7 separate regions of the Homo sapiens genome follow, and regions 2, 3, 4, 5, 6 and 7 are each linked to region 1. The links are contacts of gene promoters, found by promoter capture Hi-C in blood cells and fetal thymus (Javierre and others, 2016). All regions are on one chromosome and are shown on one strand. Each heading gives the region's core, a stretch centred on a gene start or on the middle of the fragment in contact. The rest is flanking DNA. Distances are from core to core; before and after follow the strand shown.

Region 1 (3,306 bases), core at 562-3,061:
GCCCCACTCCCCAGAACAATTGGGCTTGAGATACATCAAAAAAAATACTTCAGGGCAGGGCGCTGTGGCTCATGCCTGTAATCCCAGCACTTTAGGAGGCCAAGGCGGGTGGATCACCTGAGATCAGGGGTTTGAGACCAGCCTGACCCACACAGTGAAACCCTGTCTCTACTAAAAATACAAAATATTAGCCAGGCATGGTGGCGCACGCCTGTAATCCCAGTTACTCGGGAGGTTGAGACAGAAGAATCGCTTGAACTCGAGAGGCGGAGGTTGCAGTGAGCTGAGAGGGTGGGCCATTGCACTCCAGTCTGGACGACAGAGCGTGCCTCCGTCTCAAAAAAAAAAAAAAAAAAAAAAAAAAATTTAGGCCGGACACGGTGGCTCACTCCTACAATCCCTGCACTTTGGGAGGCCAAGGCGGGATGATCACTTGAGCCCAGGGGTTCCAGACCAGTCGGGGCAACAAAGGGGGACCTTACAACTACAAAAAAAAAATTTTTTTTTTAATTAGCCACACCTGGGACCCAAGTACCTGGGACCACACTCACCTGTCCCGTGGCTCACGCCTGTAATCCCAGCACTTTGGGAGGCTGAGGCGGGTGGATCACGAGGTCAAGAGATCGAGACCATCCTGGCCAACATGGTGAAACCCCGTCTCTACTAAAAATACAAAAAGTAGCTAGGCATGGTGGCGCTCGCCTGTAATCCCAGCTACTGAGAGGGTGAGGCAGGAGAATCGCCTGAACCCGGGAGGCGGAGGGTGCAGTAAGCCGAGATCGCGCCACTGCACTCCAGCCTGGCGACACAGCGAGACTCCGTCTCAAAAAAAAAAAAAAAGTGTCTTCAACTCAGATAGAAGGAGTCAATGAGAAGGTTCTTAAAAGCCCGAAGACCTATTTCCCAGAAAACTCTAATTAACCTTATAATTTGTATAGTTAGTTACAGTGAGTATGAGCTGTCTTGCTCTGTACTTCAGCTGTTGTAAGTGTTTACGAACTGTCTCCAAAAACAGATGCAAATTTCCCTCATGGCAGAGATCGTAACGAATTTATCTATCCACTTTCTCACAGCGCCACACCGTTCCTTACGCACAGCAGGAATGCAATCAGTATTTGTCGATGGTTCCCCAAACTAACAGGAGTGGCTGCACTACGCACACTTAGGTGATACGTACACTTGTCAAAACGGCAGAAACGCAACCTCAATTTCAGAAAAACAAACCACATTCCTTTGGGAAGGCCACCTCTGCCACAAGCAGCCAAAGCGCTTGCATAGGGGTGAGAGGCGATGGGAAGGGTACTGGAAGGCTCCCCCAGATAAAAACAAAAGACTCCTTCCAATCGCCTCAAACACGCTCGGAAACCTCCACGACCTGCGCCAGCCCACAGGAGGGGGCCAGCTTGACCTGAGGCTGCACCACTCCCCACTTAAAGCGGCGAGTATCGGCGGGGGAGCGCAGGAAGCTTACTAGTGGGGCGACCCAGTCGTTCCGGCGCTTTCCCTCTCCCTTCACGTCTTACCTGCTTGGCCAAGAACCTGCCCAACTCACTGCGGCTCTTCTCGTTCTTGGCTGCGATTAACCGCAGCGGCGCGGCTGCCACCTCCAGCAAGAAGTGCTCCATGACCCAGGGCCCTCACCCCGAGCGGCCACCTGCGCTCCCTACTTCGCGGCCAGCGTCCCCAAGCCGCCGAGGTCCCAGTGCCCGAGCAGCCAGCAACTACGCCCGCAGGAAAGGCGTCCTCAGCTCCAGCGCCTACACCGGGAGAGGGGCACCACACGTGGGTGAGCACACGGCGTTTGACGTCATCAGCTCGGGACGGCTACGCTGCGCCCTCCCGGCCTCAGCCCCTCAGCGGCGGAAACGCCAGTCTTCGCTGTCCCGCCTTTTCCGGGAGGGAAATGGAAACAAAAATCTAGTCGGTTTGGATGCAGGAGTGATGGGGACTCGCGAACACAGCACGTGGTGGGACAGAAAGAAGAGTGCGTTAGGCCGGGGAGGAAAGAGGGGGCGTGTGAGTCTCAGCCCACCGTGCCTTGCTTCTGCCTTAACACACGGAAAGATCAGATGTGAGAGAAAAGCTGATTCTCGGCCGGGCGCGGTGGCGCATGTCTTTATCCCAGCATTTTGGGAGGCCGAGGAGGGCAGATCACTTGAGGTTAGCAGTTCGAGACCAGCCTGGGCAACATGGTGAAACCCCCTTCTCTACTAAAAATACAAAAATTAGCCGGGCGTGGTGGCGCGCGCCTGTAGTCCCAGCTACTCGGGAGGCTGAGGCAGGAGAATCGCTTGAACCCGGGAGACGGAGGTTACAGTAAGCCGAGATCGTGCAGCTGCACTCCAGCCGCGCGACACAGCAGACTTTTACTGTCTCAAAAAAAGAAAGAAAAGCTGATTCTCCCCTTCTTGTTAGCGGTGGCAGTTACCCCCTGTATAGGTAGGGGTCAGCAGTAACCTTAGTTCTTGCCTCCTCAGAAGAAATAATTCCACGAAGGGCATAAGGCAGGATAGACCTAGACAAGTTTCAGAATAGAAGTAAAAGTTTATCAAAAAGCTTTAGAACGGGACGGAAAGAAAAGGAGGAAAGTACAACTTGGAAGACTGCCAAGCAGGCGACTTGAGAAACCAAGTGCGCAGCTTGACCTGTTGACTTGAAGTTTTATATGTTGGCATACTTTGGGGAACTTGCATTGCTTCTCCCCACTCCTGAGATCTTACTGGGAAGCTACTGATCAGTTTCAGGTGTTTTCTATTAGGAGACTGCCTTTCGCTGGCCCCGGTGAACGTTAGAGAAACAGTTAAGAACCGCCTGACCATCGTTTGATTGTCACCCAATAGTCCTGGTATGTGTGGGGTGGGGAGCGCTCTCCTGTTCTGCTCATACCTAACTAGTTAACATTCTGCCCCAGCAATTCCCCTTGTAGGACTCTAGCCTGCGGAAATCCTCACTAAGTGTGACAAAGACACCCCTTGCAGTTTTCTTAATACAGATATTGGAAGAAAATGTTCAATTGGGAATATTAAACTATGGGGTGTAAGTTATAGCATATTCTGGAAGTCATAAAAAATAGTAGAGTCCATAACATTAAAAGTGCACTTGTGGGCTGGGCGCAGTGGCTCAAGGCAAGGCAGGCAGATCACGAGATAAGGAGTTGGAGACCAGTCTGGCCAACATGGTGAAACCCTGTCTCTACTAAAAATACAAAAATTAGGGCTGGGTGCCTTGGCTCACGCCTGTAATCCCAGCACTTTGGGAGGCCGAGGCGGGCAGATCACCTGAGGTCAGCAGTTTGAGACCAGCCTG
Region 2 (3,306 bases), core at 358-2,857, 860 kb before region 1:
TGATATGATTGTATACATAGGAAACCCTAAAGACTCATCCAAAAAGCTCCCAAATCTGACAAATGAATTCTTTAAAGTTTCAGGATACAAAATCAACGTACACAAATCAGTAGCACTGCTATGCACCAACAATGGCCAAGCTGAGAATCAAATCAAGAACTCAATCCCTTTTACAACAGCTGCATAAAAAAAATAATAACAATAGAATACTTAGGAATATACCTAACCAAGGAGGTGAAAGATCTCTAAAAGGAAAACTACAAAACACTACTGAAATAAATCACAGATGACACAAACAAATGGAAACACATCCCATGCTCATAGATGGGTATAATCAATACTATGAAAATGATCATACTGCCAAAAGCAATCTTTAGATTCAATGCAATTCCCATCAAAGTACCATCATCATTCTTCACAGAACCAGAAAAAGCAATCCTAAAATTCATTGAACCAAAAAAGAGCCCAAATAGCCAAGGTAAGCAAACAAAAAAGAACAAATGTAAAGGCATCACATTACCCAACTTCAAATTATACTACAAGACTATAGTAACCAAAACAGCATAGTACTGGTATAAAAATAGGCACACAGACCCATGGAACAGAATAGAGAACCCAGAAAGAAAGCCAAACACTTACAGCCAACTGATCTTTGACAAAGCAAACAAAAGCATAAAGTGGGGAAAGGACACCCTATTCAACAAATGGTCCTGGGATAACTAACAAGCTACGCGTAGAAGAATGAAACTCATCTCTCACCTTATACAAAGTCAACTGGAGATGGATCAACTCAAACTTAAGTAAGATCTGAAACCATAAAAATTCTAGAAGATAACATTGGAAAAAACTCTTCTAGACATTGACTTAGGCAGAGTTCGTGACCAAGAACCCAAAAGCAAATGCAACAAAAACAAAAATAAATAGATGGAACCTAATTAAACTAAAAAGCTTCTGCACAGCAAAAGAAATAATCAGCAGAGTAAACAGACAACCCACAGAGTGGGAGAAAATCTTCGCAAACTATGCATCTGACAAAGAACTAATATCCAGAATCTACAAGGAACTGAAACAAATGAGCAAGAAAAAAACAAATAATCCCATCAAAAAGTGGACAAAGGACATGAACAGACAAAAGAAGATATACAGTTGGCCAAGAAGCATATGAAAAATGTTCAACATCACTATCAAGGAAATGCAAATTAAAACTACAATGAGATACCACCTTACTCCTGCAAGAATGGCCATAATTAAAATATCAAAAAATATTAGATGTTGGCATGAATGTGGGGAAAAGGTAACACTTTTACACTGCTGGTGGGAATGTAAATTATTACAACCACTAGGGAAAACAGTATGGTGATTCCTTGAAGAACTAGAAGAACTACCATTTGATCCAGCAATCCCACTACTGGGTATCTACCCAGAAGAAAATAAGTCATTATCTGAAAAAGCCACTTGCACAGGCATGTTTACAGCAGCACAATTTGCAATTGCAAAAATGTGGAACCAGCTTAAATGCCCAAGAACCAATGAGTGGATAAAGAAAATGTGATATGTATATATACCATGGAATACTACTCAGCCATAAAAAGGAATGAAATAATGGCATTCATGGCAACCTAGATGGAGTTGGACCCCATCATTCTAAGTGAAGTAACTCAGGAATGGAAACCCAAATATCCTGTGTTCTCACTTGTAAGTGGGAGCTAAGCTATGAGAATGCAAAGACATAACAATGATATAATGGACTTTGGGTACTCAGGGGGAAGTGTGGAGAGGGGGGATGAGGGATAAAAGACTACTACAGTGTACACTCCTTGAGTGACAGGTGCACCAAAATCTCAGAAATCATCACTGAAGTACTTATCCATGTAACCAAAAACCACCTGTCCCCCAAAAACTACTGAAATAACATAAAAATGTTTTTTAAAAAGATCTTTACTAAAGATCTCTATTTGAGCAATCAGGATCTTAATATCTCCTCCAACCTGCTTCTCTCTCAGTAAGCCCTAATAATATCAACTATCTCATGTGCATAAGCCAGACATTTGAGACTAAATTTTGACCCTCTTTCCCTCATTCTAAATACGACATCAAGTTCTGTCCATTTTCCCTTCTTAATATCTCTCAAATTAGCCTTCTACTCTTCATCTGTCACTTTTAAACTATCACTATTGTCTTTCACCTGGACTACAACAAGTTCCTAATTAGTCTCTCCATTTCCACTCTTTTCTCCATCAATTCATTAAACACAGAAAAGTCAAAGTAAGCTTTTAACTTGGATTCAAATAATCTCATCTCGATGCTGAAAAAAAAAACTGCAATTGTATGCCACTGAAAATTTAAAGCATATAAATATTAGGATACCTTATCACACCCTACTTGCCTGTATGATCAGGCTATTCTCCAACCTCTTAACCTCACTTACATCTTCCAGAACAAAGACACTTTTTCAGTCTATTATCTCTCCCATCATCATCCTATCCTAACAGAAACTTTCAATAACACCCCCTGCCAACTATTTATCTAGAAAACTTCTATTTACTGAAGATAATTCATGTATGACCTTCTCTGGGAAGTCTCACCTGATCTCCTTCTTCCTTCCCATCTCTTCTTCCTCAACCTCAAAGAATTAGGTTTATTACCTCTGATTCCCATCATATACCACAATAGAGTCATTGCTACATTTTTTACAACAGAACTGTGCTTAAAATGGATGGTTTGCTACTCCCATGAGACTCTGCTTTTTAAGGGTAATATATCTTAGCCATCTCCCTAGCACCCAGGACTAGCACAAAGTAGACATTTAAATATTTGCTAAATAAAATGACTTCAAAATCACCATCACTATCACCATCACACTATCCTGAGTACCTGGGACCACAAGTATGTGCCAATGCACCTGGCTGTGTCTCATATTTACATTCCCACAGTTCCTAGTAAGCTCTTTACATAGCAGATATGAAATAATTTTATGTTGAATGATATATCTTTAAGAAACTAGGGAGGGCTGGGTGCGGTAGCTCACACCTGTAATGCCAACACTTTGGGAGGCCAAGGCAGGCGGATCACCCGAGGTCAGCAGTTGGAGACCAGCCTGGCCAACATGGTGAAACCCCATCTCTACTAAAAATACAAAAAAGAAAAGAAAAGAAAAGAAAAAAAGGAAAAAGGAAAAGAAATTATAAGTTTGTTTTCTTCCAAGTATTCACCTGAAATCTATTAACTCAGAAGGAGGAAAAAACAGTTCTTCAGAAAATAAAGCTTGGCCCTGTCTCCAAGAGCTCTCTCTCATTGCAAGTCTGG
Region 3 (3,306 bases), core at 324-2,823, 750 kb after region 1:
TAAAAACATTCCATTTAAAGTAAGTGTATAAAATTTCTTAATTTTAGATAATGGGAAAGCATACCATTTCTTTTCTATTTTAAAATTAAAATATTACGCCTTGAAATAGATCTGAATTCCATGGATGAAACTGTTTTAATTCAGGGGTGAATTCATTTATGTAGTTAAGTCGCTTTTCCCCTAATTTTTAATCAGAATTAAGAGTATGAACGAGAAAATGTTCCTATGGCAGTACCTTTGATTAAACCGAATTGCTGATGTTCATGTATACAAAGAAATGACATCTGAGAAACCAATCTTTTTCATAATATTAAATTCACAGAGTATCTTAAGTGCAGAACTACACAAAAGAAATGAAATCTCAACTTACCTCTACAATAAACGCTTTCCTCTCAGATTCACTTTCTATTTGTTTAATAGCAACATCTTTTGCTCTCCACTTAGCTTTGCAAACAACTCCAAAGGCTCCTCTTCCAACAACCTGAGTTAAACAAACAAACAAAAAACAAACAAAAAACACCACAAGAATCGGAATCAAATAGATCAGCCCAATATAAAAAACTAAAGTCAATCTTTAAGACTTTAAATTAAAAAAAAAAAAAACATGGAAATCAACAGTATCTGGATTTGCCACTGAACAAGTATGAATTTTTGTTAAAGTGAGAAGATAATTAAATGCATGCTTGTCTCTATCTTTGAAAGTTTATGATCTGTACACCCTTTCATTCTCAAGTAAAACCAAAAAAGACACATGGAGGAACAAAGTAAAGTGATTTGTTAAATGGAGAAAAAAAAACTAAAACAGACAAGATGAATGAGAAGACAGAAGATGATATGGAAAAACAAAAAGCAGGAACATATAATAAATATTTTCAGCTATCATATTTAAGAAATTAAAAATAGCCTTTGAATAATTCAACAGGGATAGGGAATGGAGGAGAAACGATATAAATATAGATGTTAAAAGACCGGCTATGAAGGACAGACAAAATATAGTATTATTTATTCCATGGAATTTTATTCCGCAAGAAAAACTATTGATATATGTTACTTACGATATGAACTCCAAAAACATTATGCTAAGTCAAAGAAGTCAGACACCAGAGACCACATATTGTATGATTCCATTTATACAAAATGTTCAGAAAAGGCAAATCTATAGATAGATACCTGGGTCCGAGGGTGAAAATTAGAATTAACAGTAAATGAGTAGCTGGTATCCTGACAAAGTGATGAAATTATTAAAAAAAAAAAACCAAAAACCTAATTTATGGTGGTGGCTGACAACCTGGTAAATTTGCAAAACCCACCAAATTGTACACTTCAAATGGGTGAATTTTATGATGTGTAAAATAGATCTCATTACAGTTATTTTTCAAAAGTCATAAAAATAAAGATCAGACATGTATCATACTATTGTTGAAGCCAACTGATGAATACTGCATGGGTTCATTGCTCTCTCATGGAGTCCTATTTTTACAAATATTTGACATTTTTCATAATATAAAAAAAGAAAACAAAAATAGCTTTTGATACTTGTTAGAATAAAATCATTAGATTTTATCATTGTGAAAGGACCTTAGTTAAGCACCACCTACTCCAATCTCTCAGCTTCCAATGAACCTAAGCACTTTGTATCAAGGCCTTTTTCTTTAGCAAAAAATCTGCATCTCTTAACCATATTTATATGTACTTTCTATGCAGCAGGCACTTAACTAATGCTTTATATACATTACCTCATTTACACAGGCCTAGAGGAAGGTACTAATGCTGTCCTCATTTTACAGTTGAAGTGCCTAGCTTTAAAGAAGTAAAACTTGCCCAAGGCTATATAGCTAGCAAGTGTTAAAGTGCAGTCTGATGCCAGGTAGTCTAACACGGGAATGTTACCAGTCCTAATTTGTAACATATATAAAGCCCCATGTCGGGAAGTAGAAGTTAGTATCTTCCCTTGGAGGAACTTTTACTTTAGACTTACATGAACAAATTCCTGGCACAAAACTCTTCTATAACAAAGTTGACTATAACTAGGTTGATCAAATGAGTTATTATCTAACTGAGGGCACTTTGGAGATCAAAAAAAGGGCATTAATAATAATAATATTAGGACACTAGTTGTAAACTGCGATGTGTATGACCACTCTAGCCATAGCTTAAATTCCACTTCATGTATCAATAAGGCAGAATGAACATTTACCATGTTGTTCAATGTCTAAAGCTACTCAAATGGTTAACATTTATTGAATGTTTACTATGTGCCAGGTACTATTCTATGTGCTTCTCATACATTAACACATTTAATCCTCTTCCATTTAAAAGGGAGGCAAATGGAGTCACATGGTTGTAACTTGCCCAAGATTGGATGGTCAGAAAATATTCAGAGAAGCCAGAATTTGAAGCCTAGAGCACCTAATGATGAACATACTCTATATTCAGCTTCTGTTCATCAGTGGCTTAAAGGAAATGGGGCTGCCTCTAGGCAAAATTTCAAAGTAGGCCAACTTCTCTGGTAGCTAGTCTTTGTTTTGTTGACTTCCCATTTCACTCGTCCTAGCCCTGGGCACTCAGTGTTCTGTGGTTTAGGTTCTTGTTCTCCTTCACAATTCTCATCAGACATTTGTACTTGCCATTCAGTTACTTTATTGTGAATAGAGGGTACTGGCTACCTGGTACCATTAGAATAAATGAAAGAGCACACCCAGGCTCTGAAATCCAACAGACTTGAGTTTGAATGTAGGGCTCTGTCTACCTATTATCTCTTAATGGTGGACAAGTTTGAGTTTCTGTTTTCTCAGCAGTAAAATAGAAGTGCTGACATTTTCCTTCATGAATATCTACAGGATTCGTAAGTTAAAACCAGGTATTTCCTCAAATACTACAAAGAACAGTAAGTGCTTGGAATTGGGTATGAATCAGTGTAAAGGGCTGTAGTACTCATTTCTTTTCTTTCTTTTTTCTTTTGGGTAGAGATGGGATCCCACTATGTTGCCCAGGTTGGTCCTGAATCCCTGAACTCAAGTAATCGCCCTGCCTCAGCCTCCCAAAGTGCTGGGATTACAGGTGTGAGCCACTGCACCTGACCTGTAGTACTCACTTCTCTTGCAATTAACTAAGATGAATAGCAAGCAGGTCCTAAAAAAATTTCAACTTTGTGGCAACATTAGTTTAAGAACACAGGCATGGAGACCAGACTTTACCTATTGATATTACTATTAAATACGAAATGATTATGAAGTAATTTATTCTTCAACCATGTATTTATAAATACATCACAGCAACTGGTACTTACTAGGAATCCCCTTCTTT
Region 4 (3,306 bases), core at 359-2,858, 740 kb before region 1:
AGGTCAATACATAATGATAAGAAACTAGGTTCTGCAAGGCTAGCCAACTGAAACTTGAAAAAATACACCGTATTTCAGGGAGAGGCATCAATTTACTAGAAATTAAAAGTTCTGCAGGGCCAGGGGCATTGGCTTATGCCAGCGCTTTGGGAGGCACTGGTGGGAGAACTGCTTGAGGCCAGAAGCTCAAGACCAGCCTGGGCAACAAGCAAGACCCTGTCTCTATAAAAAATTTAAAAATTAGCTAGGTGTGGTGGTACTTGCCTGTAGTCCCAGCTACTCAGGAACCTGAGGTGGTAGGGTTCCTTGAGCCCAGGAGTTTGATACAGTGAGCTACGATCGTGCCACTGCACTCCAGCCTGGTCAACAGAGCAAGACCCTATCTCCATAAACTAAATAAAGAAATACATTCTGCAAATGGCAAGGATTTTTAAAAGCTTGATCAATGTATACAATGAGAGCAAGGCTCAGGTAAGGAAGGCATAATGGAGACTGTTACCCAGCTAAGATGCAATTGGTTAAACATCAGCTGGTCTAAATGACATGCTTTTTCTATTTTTTTTTTTTTTTTTTTTTTTTGAAACAGGGTCTCACTCTGTCACCCAGGCTAGACTGCAGTGGCGCAATTATGGCTCCCTGCAGCCTTGACCTCCTGGGCTCAAGCCATCCTTCCACCTCAAGTCTCCTGAGTAGCTGGGATGACAGGTGGGCAACACCACATCCAGCTAATTTTTGTGGGTTTTGCCATTTTGCCCAGGCTGGTCTCAAATTCTTGAGCTCAAGTGATCCTCCCACCTCGGCCTCCCAAAGTTTTGGGATTACAGGCGTGAGCCACTGCACCCGGCCATGACACGCTTTTTCTTTTGGTTTTATATCTAGGCTGAAATAGAATCAAATGTCCATCATTATTATTGTACCCTAAGGTTGCCACTAGTCCTTTTGACACCTTCATACCAATAAGAAAAAGCCACCTTAGTCCATTCTGGCTGCTAAAACAAAATATCATAAACTGGGTAGATAACAAACAACAGAGATTTATTTCTCACACTTCCAGAGACCGGGATGTTCAAGATCAGGGTGCCAGCTGGTCAGGTTCTGGTGAGGTCCCTCTTCTGGGTTGCAGACTGCAGACTTCTTGCTGTGTCCTCAGTGGTATAAGGAGGAGGGGCCTCTGTGGCCTCTAATCATATGCATGAGGGCTCCAACCTGATGACCTAATCACTCCCCAAAGACCCCACGTCCTAACATTATCACACTGGTTATTAGGTTTCAACATAGGAATCTGGGGAAGACACAAACGTTCAAATCATAGCGATGCCCAGATGGCCCCAGCCCTTGGGAAGATGTCTTCAAGAGCAGAGTCAAAGCTCTGTTTCAGCTCTCCCTTGACTCTTTGGCCAGGTACCCTCATGCAAATTATAACCTGTACAAACCTGTAACCCCAGAGAGATATAAGTATAGGGATAATGGAGACATTAATTTCAATCTATGGTAACAATACTTTATAAGCACTCCAAGTGTCATAAATTTGTCATTATTGTGAAAATTTGTGCATATTTTGCTTTTTAACACAAATTTTAGATTTTTATTTAAACTCTTCAGAGTACATTATAAAATAAGTTTTGTAATCAATGCTGAAATGTTAGGAAAATTTTTACTTGCTAAACAAAAACATTTTGATTTCCTGGTTGTTTTATGTTTAGAAGACTATTATTTTATAAATTTGAAAGATTAATAATTTGAGCATTAAGCAAAACAGAAGGCCGGGTGCAGTGGCTCACGCCTATAATCCCAACACTTTGGGAAGCTGAGGCGGGCGAGTCACCTGAGGTCAGGAGTTTGAGACCAGCCTGGCCAACATGGTGAAACCCCATCTCTACTAAAAATACAAAAATTGGCCAGGCATGGTGGCATGCACCTGTAATCCCAGCTACTCAGGAGGCTGGGGCAGGAGAATCACTTGAACCTGGGAGGTGGAGGTTGCAGTGAGCCGAGCTGAGATCACACTACTACACTTCAGCCTGGGCAACAGAGTGAGACACCGTCTAAAAAAAAAAAAAAAGCAAAATAGAAGTTTGATTAAGTGTTCCTCTTTTCACACAGGTGTCCCTCACACCTTAGACATTACAGATCTAAGCAATAGGCTGGGTGAGGTGGCTCATGCCTGTAATCCCAGCACTTTGGGAGGCCAAAGTGGTTGGATCACTTGAACTCAGGAGTTCGAGACCAGCTTGGGCAACATGGCAAAACCCTGTCTCTATCAAACACGCACACACACAAATTAGCAGACATGGTGGCATGCGCCAGCTAGGGAGGATGAGGTGTGAGAATCTCCTGAACGCCAGAGGTGGAGGCTGCAGTGAGTTGTTATCGCACCACTGCACTCCAGCCTGGGTGACAGAGTGAAGCCCTGTCTCAAAAAAGAAAAAGAAAAAAAAATCTAAGTAATAATAGGTAGAAAAAATGGTAATAAAGTCTATATAAAGAGGAAAAAAGACATTCAGGGTAGGAGGAAAGAAAATGACATTTCATACAGAGAGAGGGAGAGAAAGAGGACAGAGGTAAAATACACGAGAGACAAAGGTAGATAGAAGAGAGAGAAGTGGAATTTGGAGTTCTGCTTAGTGTCAATGCGGGTAAGCTGCTTATTTCATAAATGGGCATTACCTCTTTTTTCTGCTATTTAATACCTAGTTTACTTTCCAATCTTTTATTTTTCTTCTAACCTCCTCTAAAGATTAGCTTAACAAAAATAAAATCAAGATGTACACTGGAGCAAAAAGCTTCAAGAACTCTGAGAATTCTCCTAAAATTTCCTTTACCCTTGGAATATCTTGTTACCTCCAAGTTTGGCCTTTTGGGCCCAAGCAAAAGGATCTGATTTTTTTTTTTTTTTTTTTTTTCCCTGAGATGAAGTCTTGCTCTGTCGCCCAGGCTAGAGTGCAGTGGCGTGATCTCGGCTCACTGCAACCTCTACCTCCCAGGTTCAAGTGATTCTTCTGCCTCAGCCTCCCAAGTAGCTGGGACTACAGGCATGCACCACCACAACTGGCTAATTTTTGTATTTTTAGTAGAGACAGGGTTTCATCATGTTGGCCAGGCTGGTCTCCAACTCCTGACCTCAAGTGATCCATCCACCTTGCCATCCGTGAGCCACTGCACCCAGCCTGATCTTTTTCCTTTATATCATATAGCACAGCTAACACTATATGTTTAAACCTGTAACGCTTAGGTTTAAACATTAAAATTAGACTTTACTAAAGACTAAGGGTTTACAAAGACTACCCACACAGAGTAACATTAAAT
Region 5 (3,306 bases), core at 68-2,567, 710 kb after region 1:
CTCCTGACCTCGTGATCCGCCCGCCTCGGCCTCCCAAAGTGCTGGGATTACAGGCGTGAGCCACCGCGCCCGGCCTCATAAGGACTTTTTAAAAAGCACCTTTTTTTTCTTGATGTGTTACTGAGTACCAAAGAAGAGACTTAAAAAAGAACATGGAGTTATAGAAAATAAAACTTAAAATAAATTCATGAAGAATCTTATATCTAGCTTCAACATATATACAAACACTCAAATTCAAGACTGCAACAAGTAAAATGAAATGCAATACAAAAGTACCTTTGAGTAGAATCCATCGTATGTGAGTTCTAATTATGCTGTAATGTCTGCTTCAGATCACTTCAACCTCTCTTTATCTGGAGAGGGGTTGGGGCTGGGTTAAGAATGTGATGAGAAGTGTTCCATATAGTGCTAAAATTATATGATTTTAGGTCTTGAAAAGCCACAATGGATTCAGGATAATAAACAGTGACAGGTACTTTGTTTTCCTCTCATTTCTGTTTTTTTAAAAATAATTTTTAATTTTTGTGTGTACATAGTAGGTACATATTTATGGGGCACATGAGATGTTTTGACACAGGCATGCAATGCATAATAATCACATCATGAAAAATGGGGTACCCATTCCCTCAAGCATTTATCCTTTGTGTTACAAACAATCTAATTATACTTTTAGTGAAAGGTACTTTCCTAACAATTTCAGAGAAAAAAATCATAAATTAACTTTGAAGAAAAACTGATGAAATATGACTTTCATTTTGGGTACCCACTGAAATTGCTTCAGAAATTCCAAAAAGCTTTTCTACACCATAACCAATTTTTAACTCCATATAAGATTGCTCATTCTGTTCTTTTCTTCTCCTTGTTAATCCTTCCCCACCCTGTAAGGCCCAGCTCAGGTTTTCTTCTACATTATGTGGTGATTCTTGCCACTTCTCTGGTTGTTTGTGTACAAGGCCAGACCTTGTGTTTGAGGACATGGAGTGCCTAACAGTGTACTGCAGGCAAAATGTTCGTTTACTGATTGTTACTGAATCAATTCTGAAATTCTCACTCTGGCATTCATGACTCTCCATCAGCAGGTTTACCTTGCCCATCTGGATTTTCTCTCCTCTTAAAATTCCTCATGCCCCTGTTTCCCTTGCAGTTTTTAATCCTGACCTCATATTCACCTAAAGATAATACGGCGTAGTGCACAGGGCATGCATAAAACTGAACCAGATAAAACTGGTGTTTTTGTAGTTGAAAACTCAGCAACTTCACATGTTTCAGTCTAATACTTTGGAGACCTGGGGTTATGTCTCCATTCTGCCACTTACAGCTGTGTGAACCTGTGTAAGTAACTTAGCCTCTCTGAGACTTAGGTTTCTCATTGATGAAGTGTGAATGAGAAAAAGTAGTAGCAGTAAGAAGTTGGGTGTTGGAGACAAGACAGCCCAGAGTTTGACTGTGCTCTGCCATTTCTAACTAGTACAGCTTTGGGTAACTTATTTAACCTCTAAGACTCAATAGGAAAATAAGGACAGTATTATCTATCTATAAGGTTATAAAAATTAAATGAAATGATGTACATGAAATGTCTTCACACGAGATTTTTTTCTTCTTTGAATTTTGGCTGTATAGTCAGTTCCTACTTCAACTTGTGCCCGAAATTATAGTAGTCTCAAAGTTTTACTCCTCTTCAAAAGTATTATAACCTCTTAAGGGCAGAGACCATGCGTACTTTTTATATTGTACTTCCCAGGATCTGGGAAATTGCTGAATATATAATAAACACATAATAGATACTCATTGAATAAAATGAGAACACAAGCTATTAGCACTCAGATACAAGATTGGTGCTTAAGCTTATTTACCTTTAGTATATAAGAATAACAACGACATACACCAAAGAAAACCAGTGATGAAATGTTTCACTCTTACTTTTAGGATACTTTTACCCTTGACAAAGCAAGTATAGACATTATGAAATTATTCCTGAGTCTTTTTAACTTTCTTTGACTGAAAGCAAGTACACAAATATGCCCATAGTTATAACTGCTATTATAAATCAAAGGCATTTTTCCTTCAAAGTGGTGGCAGACCAGGGTTTCAGAGTCAGTGTAATGCTAATGCACATTTTAAAAAGAGAAACACATGTTTGTGACATGTAAGAATCAGTATCAGTTGTGAGAAATCAACAAAATACAGTAGAAGTAATAATTAGGTTTTTAAAATGAGAATGGATTTAGTATATTTAAAAAAGAGGTCACTGAACATCTGCAATATTAAAACAAATAAGTTGGACCTAATAGGAATTTTATAGTACTCCTTAAGCTTAAATCTTTTGCAAAATGATTCTTTGCTACACCTTTCTTTTCACCTTCTACTTTCCAAGAAACTCTTAGCACCTTCTGTGCATGCTTGTTTGTCCCACTTGTAATTTCCAACAGCTATGAAACTAAGAAATATAAGGCTTGCACTTTTAATGCAAGTTTCAAAACTGTTTTTAGACCAGCACAGTTAGATTTAAATCCATTAACTAATAAATAAATCTTTATATTTTAAGAAATGTGTATCTCAATAAATAAAAATATGCTAATATGTTTGTATAAAAAAACTAAGGAAATATTTAAAAACAAGGCATAACTGTAGTTTTTGAGTATGTGAATAATACAAGGCATAAATAAGAGGAACACATAACATCTGACAATCAATGAAAAAACTCAAACTAGTTTGTGGCTGAATTTATGTTACTGCTTGTAACCAACTACTGAAGAAGTTTTTACAGTACTTATTTTTTAAAATCACTGGTAAAATTCTGAGGGTCACAAATGCTCTCAAACTATTAAAACTCATTTAAGTTGCTCCTTCCTCTAAGACATTTAAAATTACTTATTCTATCCCCACATTAATTGCAAAGTTTAAGAGATATAGGCAAACTTGACTTACCAAAAGAACTGGATATGAAAGTCACAAGAGTATAGAAACGTGACACAGCAATTTAAGGCAGCAAAAGAATACTAAGCCAAATTTAAACCTCAGGGGCAGATTACCATCAGTAGACATGAACCAGAATTGGCCTTTGACCAGAAATTTATCCCTATATTTATAAAAAGGAATTGGAAGTTATTTTACAGACAAAAATAAAGCTCAGCTTTTAATATCTTACCTGAAAGACTGGGAAAATATTTTCATAAGTCAGGAATTTACACCCAGTGTTATTATTTAGACTGACATTTAAAAGCTATTTAATACCCTCAGAAATCTTAGTAGCTAAAATTATACAAGCACAAAACACAGAGATTAAATGATGACTTCTATGATATT
Region 6 (3,306 bases), core at 345-2,844, 690 kb after region 1:
AGTTACAGAGCTGCCAAGGCTTGCCTCCTGCCTTTGTCTTTGGATGACCTCAGGGGTATTTTTCCCTTCAGGCATTCTTGATGCTTCCCATGGGTTGAGGTAGGGACAGGTCTCCTGACAGGGAACTCAAGATGGTGGGGAAGGTGGTTGTTAACCTTAATCTCCTTTTCCAATGTAGAACTCTGAGCTGAGGGGTGAAATTTTGGGGGGAAGGGCATTGAGGACATGGAGGTCCAATTATCTGACTACTTGGAGTCTTTTCACTTCTCCATGGTTCTGGGAACTATCTCTTTTTTATATTTGAATTCTAGAATATTGCTGGTGATAATCTCGGCACTATATGTTTGTCTTTTTTTGTGTGTGGGGGTTAGTGGGGTGGGGAGTAAAGCAAGCTTGCTTCTGTGCTGCCATTTTGGAACCAGAAGTCTTGGTGGTTCTCACATTTGTGCAACCGAATCACTTGGGGAATTGGGAAAAAAGTTTTATCCCTGGTCCTACACTGTCATCGTGAAGCAGGATTTCCCCAGAATGTGTACTTTCTCCCATCAAACTCTGGGAGCAGAATTTCTCTCATCAAATCCATGGGAATACCTTTAGAATCCCCTCCTTTCAGATCCACCCTTACCTGGAGGGATCCAGGTTGGGGCCAATAGTGGGAAGAGAAATTCCAGCTCTTGTAGGATGAAGGCAAAGGCTCTAATTGTGTCCATGGCAAAGGGCCTGGGTACCTGGCCCATTAAGCTGTCCTGTGGAGTTCTCCATGCCAATAAAACTTGGTCAGAGTGTTGTCTAAGACTTCCTCACCTCTTGGTTTTTATTTTTATTGCACAGAAAACAGTAAGAAGGGAAAGGATTTTTAAAAGGGGAAAATCACCACAATGCCAACATCTGGACATTAACCACTTTACTTTTTAATTTTCTCTCATAGTCTTTTGTAATTATTCCATTCAATTGCATTATTATTTCATTTATATTAAGGACCAAATATACTTTTGTGAATGAGCCTAGGAATCTAGCTCTCTTCCCTTTTATTAACAAGAAAATACACTCCAAGTTCTACACTAATTAAAAGTGAGAGTTTTGTAGGGCTTAAGGCTTAGAAGACCTGGGTTTGAACTGGAGTCCATAATTTACTACCTGGGCAAACTTTCAAACTCCTCTGTGCTTCAGCTTACCTCTAAAGCAAGGGTCACATTTAAGAAATGCCTGAAACATAATATACACCTAATAAATGTTAGTTTCTTTCTCTTTGTCTTTGTTGACAACTCTAAGTTTGTTAACACCTATTTTATGCTTGTAAGTTAAATTTTGTTTTCTTTTCATAATGGACTTCCTACCAAAGTTTCTCTTCTAAGGGACACTGTCTGATACTGAATATTTAAATTATTTCAAATCTAGTTTCCAGCTAAGGTGTTTCAACTTAAAACACATTTTGAAGTTTTATTTTTCCAAGCTGCATCAATTATAAATACATGAAAATCTCCAGGTATGTGTACACCATATTGATCAGAGTTTTACATTAATGAAGATGCAAGTTACTTGTGCATTCTAGTGAGAGGCCAGGTTTTCCTGCTCCCCTTTTATTGTGGAGAGTGGGGAAGGAGGAAGTGGTCAAGGCAGTGGCCTATTTTCCTTCCCAAGGTAGTGTGGCAGAGGCTATTCTTGTCTCCTATAACCTTTCAATCCTCCACCTGTAACTTAACTCTATCTGATCTCCTAAGCGAAGCATGTGGCTATCCATTATAGAGATGTTTCCCAGCCTCTCTGCAGCTAGGAGTGGCCATTTGACTATGTTCTGGTCAAAACATATGAGTGTAAATGATGTGCACCTTCACAATTCCTACCCTTTCCCTCTTCCCTTTGGCGGCAATGAAGATGTATATAATTATACTACTTTAGTTTTTTATATGAGAAAAAAAGAACTGCTAACTTGTTTCAGCCATTATTTTGGGCAGCAGCCCAACTTACATCCTAGTGAATATAGAGAGATAGTGAACATGGTCTGAGGCACTGAGGTTAAGGAATTTTCTAATATGGATAAAAAAGAAAGCACAATAGGAAGAAATGTTCAGTGTAGGCCAAGGAAATCTATACTACTTCCTCAATCCTCCTAAACATAAAACTTGGAACCATGAATGCAAAGATAGTAAAACTGAAATCTGACTACATAATTCTAAGAATGTACTAATAGTATCATGGCCCCAATGTACAGAAGTAGATCTGCTTTGTAAGCATATAATTCATCCATTTCATATGCAGCTTAGATAATATTTTCATGGTACATGCAAAAGGAACAAGAGTGGTGCCAATTTTTCTAAGTAAGATGTCTATCACATTTTAGATGGATATTTAGTTAAGGACCTTTGTAGGAAACTGATTAAAAGCCAAAATGGTTCTAGAGCATGTGATGAGGGAATACCACCATTAATTCTACAACCAAAGTTACACCCAGTTTCAGGTTTCTTCAGTCTCTAGTCTGAATTTAGTAAATGAGCCAATCGATGATTAATGTAATCATTCCAGTAATAACTAAAGAAGAGGTATCCACAAATAGAAACACGCAACAAGTCTGAAAAGTAACTGCATTTTGTAAGTTACTTTTGCTTTTCAGAATATAAATATCCAGCATTTACTCAGTAATTTCTGGTGCTTTCAAAGCAATGATCCTGCTGCTACATGGCACTGATAAGATATCATTAACCATTAAATTAAAGGAAAAGTAATGCCTTTCATGACTTGGAAATTTGAAAGTACCATGACACTCAAATACAGTTAAATAGCCATTCATTTCTCAAAAAAGCTTCATTTAAAAGTGGTCTTATGTATTTTGGAAGACTCAAGTTATGCATAACATAGAACCTACTGATTTAAAGGCTGCCTAAAGTAACAGATGGGCAGGTCATTTAAACTGACGTTCCATTTTGGTGGAAATGCACGGCAGGGGGTGTCAGAACCTCCAAGACCAGTGTCTAGTCATGGATGGAAAAGGAGCATAGAGCCTGGTGTTAAGTGTTACATGATCTGCCAATGCAAATATTATTTCTGCGTGCACCACCATATCAGGAAGGACCACTGACAGCATCTGTATGAGATAGTGTCAAACATTTTTACAAAGACTATCTTCACTGTTACTGAAAATATTGTTTTGCCAATTGTTCTGTGGCATAACAACCAACCTAGTCTTTGCTGGGATTTTGAGCAAGCAGAAAGCAGCTGCAACTTAAAAAAATAAAGAAAAGAAAAACAACAGAAAACTTAAAATTCCTCTCAAAGGAATTACAAAAACTATTCAAGTGGGGGAAAAGG
Region 7 (3,306 bases), core at 293-2,792, 670 kb after region 1:
GTTTTCCAAAGATGGTCACAAGGTTGCTCCTGCTGCACGCTCCTCTTCCCATGGGACCTTAACACTCCTCCTTTGAGCTCCTCCCCCAAACCTAGACAGACCCTTGTAACTGCCTCAACTGAACATAGTAGAAGTGATGTTACTGGAAAGGGGTCCTGATCCAGACCCCAAGAAGAGAGGGTTCTTGGACTTCACACAAGAAAGAATTTGGGGCGAGTTCATAGAGGGAAGTGAAAGCAAATTTATTAAGAAAGTAAAGGAGCAAAAGAATGGCTACTTGCAGGAAAAGGATGGGCAATTTCCAGAACTGAGGGTTCCTCTCATTTTTAGACGATATAAGGTAACTTCTTGACATTGCCCTGGCATTTGTAAATGGTCATGGTGCTGGTGGGAGTGCCTTTTAGCATGCAAATGCATTATAATTAATGTATAATGAGCAGTGAGGAGGACCAGAGGTCATTTTCATCACCATCTTGGTTTTGGCAGGTTTTGGCTGGCTTCTTTGCTGCATGCTGTTTTATTAACAAGGTCTTTGTGACTTGTATCTTGTGCTGACCTCCTATCTCATCCTATGACTAAAAATGCCTAACCTCCTGAGAATGCAGCCCAGTGGGTCTCAGCCTTATTTTACCCAGATCCTATTCAAGAGGAAGTCACTCTGGTTCCAAGGCCTCTGGCAGTGACACAATGTAACTTGTGAGGCTAGTGTTCAATACAGTTTATAGGAGCTCACTATTTTGGACTGAGCTCCTGTAGACTCAACAGACCAAACCAAAACAGCATCATTCGTGCCAAAGTTTCATATCACCACACCAATATTTGTCTGACCTCCCCAGGAATCAGGAAAGAGAGAGAAATAATAGCCAAATTCTGAAACAGATCACTTTTGGCCAGCAGGATAAGAAAATCCACTCTGCTTTACAAGGAAAGTAGCTTTGAAATGACCAATCTGCTTTTTGTTCCTTGTTTCCGCCTTCTGTGGCCTTTTTCTCTCTGTAAATACTCACTGCCCATGTTGCAGAGTGGAGTTCTTGGAACCTTTTCTTGTTCTGAGGGTTACTCAATTCTCAAGTCATTCTTTGCTCTAATATACTCTGTTAAATTTATTTTGGGTAAAGTTTTTCTTCTATCATTAGATTGTAAAAATTCTATATACTTCTGCTTGGCACCTTGGGATGTGGCCCTTTGATGTGGCTGCCATATTATGAGGAAGTGCAAAGCAGCTGCCCACATGGAGGGTCCACAGGTAGGTGTTCCGATGGACCGCCCAGGTGAGGACCCAGAATCAAGTGCTGGACACATAAGTGAAGAAATCTCCAGATGATTCCAGCTCCCAGCTGTTGAGTCTTTGAGTCTTTCCAGAGGGGGCCTCAGATGCCATGGAGCAGACACGGCTGTCCCTTCTGTACCAAAGTCAAATTGCTGCTGCATGGAATCCCTCATTCTAAGCATCATTAACTGGCTGTTTTGTACCATTAAGGATTGTGGTTTGTTTCACAGAAGTATATGTATATTATAACTCTCTTTTAGTAAGAGCAAGCAAGCAAAGCAAAAACAAAACCCAACACTCCTGAACATCTGCATATATATTTTTTAATGTAAAAAAGTTATGTTAAAATATACATAAGGTTTAACTTTTTAACCCCTTTTAAGTACACAGATTTAGAGCATTAAGTATGTTCACACTGTTACACAACCATTACCACAGTCTGTCTCTGGAATTTTTTCCAACTTCCCAAACTGCAACTCTATACTCATGAAACAATAACTGTCTAATCCCCTTCCCAGAACTCTTGGTGAGCACCATTTAACTTTCTGTTTCTATAAATTTGACTACTCTAGAAACCTCTTGTAAGTGGAGTCATATGGTGTTTGTCCTCTTGTGACTGGCTTATTTCACTTAGCCTAATATAGGTTCATCCCTGTTGAAGCATGTGTCAGAACTTCCTTCATTTTTAAAGCTGAATAATATTCCACTGTATGTATATACAAACTCCTGGGCTCAAGTGATCCTTCCCCTCAACCTCCCAACATGCAGGGATTATAGGCGTGAGCCCATGCACCCGGCCCCATTTTCTTTATATCTATTCGTCCATCAATGGACACTTGGTTTGCTTCCACCTTTCGGCTACTGTGAATAATGCTGCTATAAATATGGGTATATAAATGGGGTTTGAAGTCTCTTTAGTTCTTTTGGTTATATATCCAGAAGTACAGTTGCTGGATTACATGGTAATTCCGTTTTTAATTTTTTGAAGAACTGTCATACTGTTTCCTATTGTAGTTGCCCCATTTTATATTCCCACCAGCAGTGCCACAAGGCTTCCAATTTCTTCTCGTCATCACCAATAGTTGTTATAATTTTTTTTTTATAAAAGCCATCCTAAAGTATGTGAAGTGATATCTTGGTGTGAGAGCTCATTTTGATTCACATTTTCCTAATAACTAGTGATGTTGATCATGTTCTCATGTGTTTATTGGCCATTTGTATATCTTCTTTGGATAAATGCTTATTCAAGCCCTTTGCCCATTTTTAAATTAAGTTGTTTGGTTTTTGTTTGGAAATATTCCTTTAAATGTATATATAGACAAGGCAGAGGTATAGAAACAACAGGCTGTTACCTCAGAGGTTGTGTGTTGAGGTGGAAGAGGAGCAAACATGATTCCTTTCTGCCTCTTGTGAAATTGTACTGAAGGGCTCCACGTATTACCAGCATGTGTCACTAACTGAATAAAGAAAAACAATTTAAAGAAATTATCAGTAAAAAGTCACCTTGCTTAAGTATCTCAAAATATCTAACTTGAAGTTTTTTTTAATGGTACAGCCAAGAAAATGAAATAATCTTGAGTTGAACCTTCACACAGATTTCATTGGTAAAATTTTAATAATGAGAAGAAAACTTCCCTTCATTGTTCTAGTCACAGATCCTTGGCCTGCCTTTTCCACCTCCTCCCTCCTCCCTTCTGGAAAGAGCTCAGACTAAGAGAAGAGCCTGTCTCTCTTTAAAGAGACTATTTGTTTCCATGGTAACTTGCCTTCTTCATCTTCAGAGCTGTAAACTAGGAAATTCCATTAGAGGCTTATCCGGGCAGTTGCTTTTGAAATGGTGTCTGATATTAGCTGTCTGCTTCATTCACCTTTGCTGCTTAGTAATCTTTTGAATTTGGTGATTTTGTTTCTATCAAATGAAGAGAGTAAAATAAAACAACACGAAGCTGATTATAATCGGTCTTGTTGGGCCAGCTGTGCATTCTTGTTAGGTCCTGTGGTGGGGCTGTCATGGTGTGGCCTCCTAGGTGACTGTG

The links. The method cuts DNA at HindIII sites, captures the fragments that hold promoters and counts their contacts. A CHiCAGO score of 5 or more calls a contact.
Region 2: a contact is called between a fragment that was not itself captured here and the fragment with the promoter of MDN1 in region 1, in 1 of 17 cell types (fetal thymus). The highest score is 7.1, in fetal thymus.
Region 3: a fragment that was not itself captured here is called in contact with the fragment with the promoter of MDN1 in region 1 in 1 of 17 cell types (fetal thymus); the score reaches 5.3 in fetal thymus.
Region 4: a fragment that was not itself captured here is called in contact with the fragment with the promoter of MDN1 in region 1 in 1 of 17 cell types (fetal thymus); the score reaches 5.5 in fetal thymus.
Region 5: a contact is called between a fragment that was not itself captured here and the fragment with the promoter of MDN1 in region 1, in 2 of 17 cell types (activated CD4 T cells and monocytes). The highest score is 6.6, in activated CD4 T cells.
Region 6: a fragment that was not itself captured here is called in contact with the fragment with the promoter of MDN1 in region 1 in 2 of 17 cell types (naive CD4 T cells and total CD4 T cells); the score reaches 5.3 in naive CD4 T cells.
Region 7: a contact is called between a fragment that was not itself captured here and the fragment with the promoter of MDN1 in region 1, in 10 of 17 cell types (naive CD4 T cells, total CD8 T cells, total CD4 T cells and 7 more). The highest score is 12.3, in naive CD4 T cells.

The regions. Positions count from the first base shown.
Region 1 is chr6:89,817,983-89,821,288 of GRCh38, forward strand. MDN1 (midasin AAA ATPase 1) reads right to left here and starts at 1,812. Exons shown (of 102, transcript NM_014611.3): 1 at 1,524-1,812. The coding sequence starts at 1,625. RefSeq lists enhancers at 1-269, 270-889, 1,466-1,855, 1,510-2,129, 2,130-2,749. The HindIII fragment of the contact is 1,090 bases long and covers 1,465-2,554 here.
Region 2 is chr6:88,957,444-88,960,749 of GRCh38, forward strand. All of the region lies in intron 1 of RNGTT (RNA guanylyltransferase and 5'-phosphatase), which reads right to left. Among named protein-coding and RNA genes, the nearest start is that of RNGTT, 4.5 kb to the right of the region's middle. The HindIII fragment of the contact is 1,322 bases long and covers 947-2,268 here.
Region 3 is chr6:90,571,327-90,574,632 of GRCh38, forward strand. MAP3K7 (mitogen-activated protein kinase kinase kinase 7) reads right to left here. Exons shown (of 17, transcript NM_145331.3): 2 at 371-481. Among named protein-coding and RNA genes, the nearest start is that of MAP3K7, 14 kb to the right of the region's middle. The HindIII fragment of the contact is 5,120 bases long and covers 1-3,306 here.
Region 4 is chr6:89,074,102-89,077,407 of GRCh38, forward strand. No RefSeq gene overlaps it. Among named protein-coding and RNA genes, the nearest start is that of PNRC1-DT, 4.8 kb to the right of the region's middle. The HindIII fragment of the contact is 2,346 bases long and covers 436-2,781 here.
Region 5 is chr6:90,528,103-90,531,408 of GRCh38, forward strand. All of the region lies in intron 13 of MAP3K7 (mitogen-activated protein kinase kinase kinase 7), which reads right to left. Among named protein-coding and RNA genes, the nearest start is that of MAP3K7, 57 kb to the right of the region's middle. The HindIII fragment of the contact is 1,050 bases long and covers 793-1,842 here.
Region 6 is chr6:90,508,996-90,512,301 of GRCh38, forward strand. No RefSeq gene overlaps it. Among named protein-coding and RNA genes, the nearest start is that of MAP3K7, 76 kb to the right of the region's middle. The HindIII fragment of the contact is 2,408 bases long and covers 391-2,798 here.
Region 7 is chr6:90,487,217-90,490,522 of GRCh38, forward strand. No RefSeq gene overlaps it. Among named protein-coding and RNA genes, the nearest start is that of MAP3K7, 98 kb to the right of the region's middle. The HindIII fragment of the contact is 8,086 bases long and covers 1-3,306 here.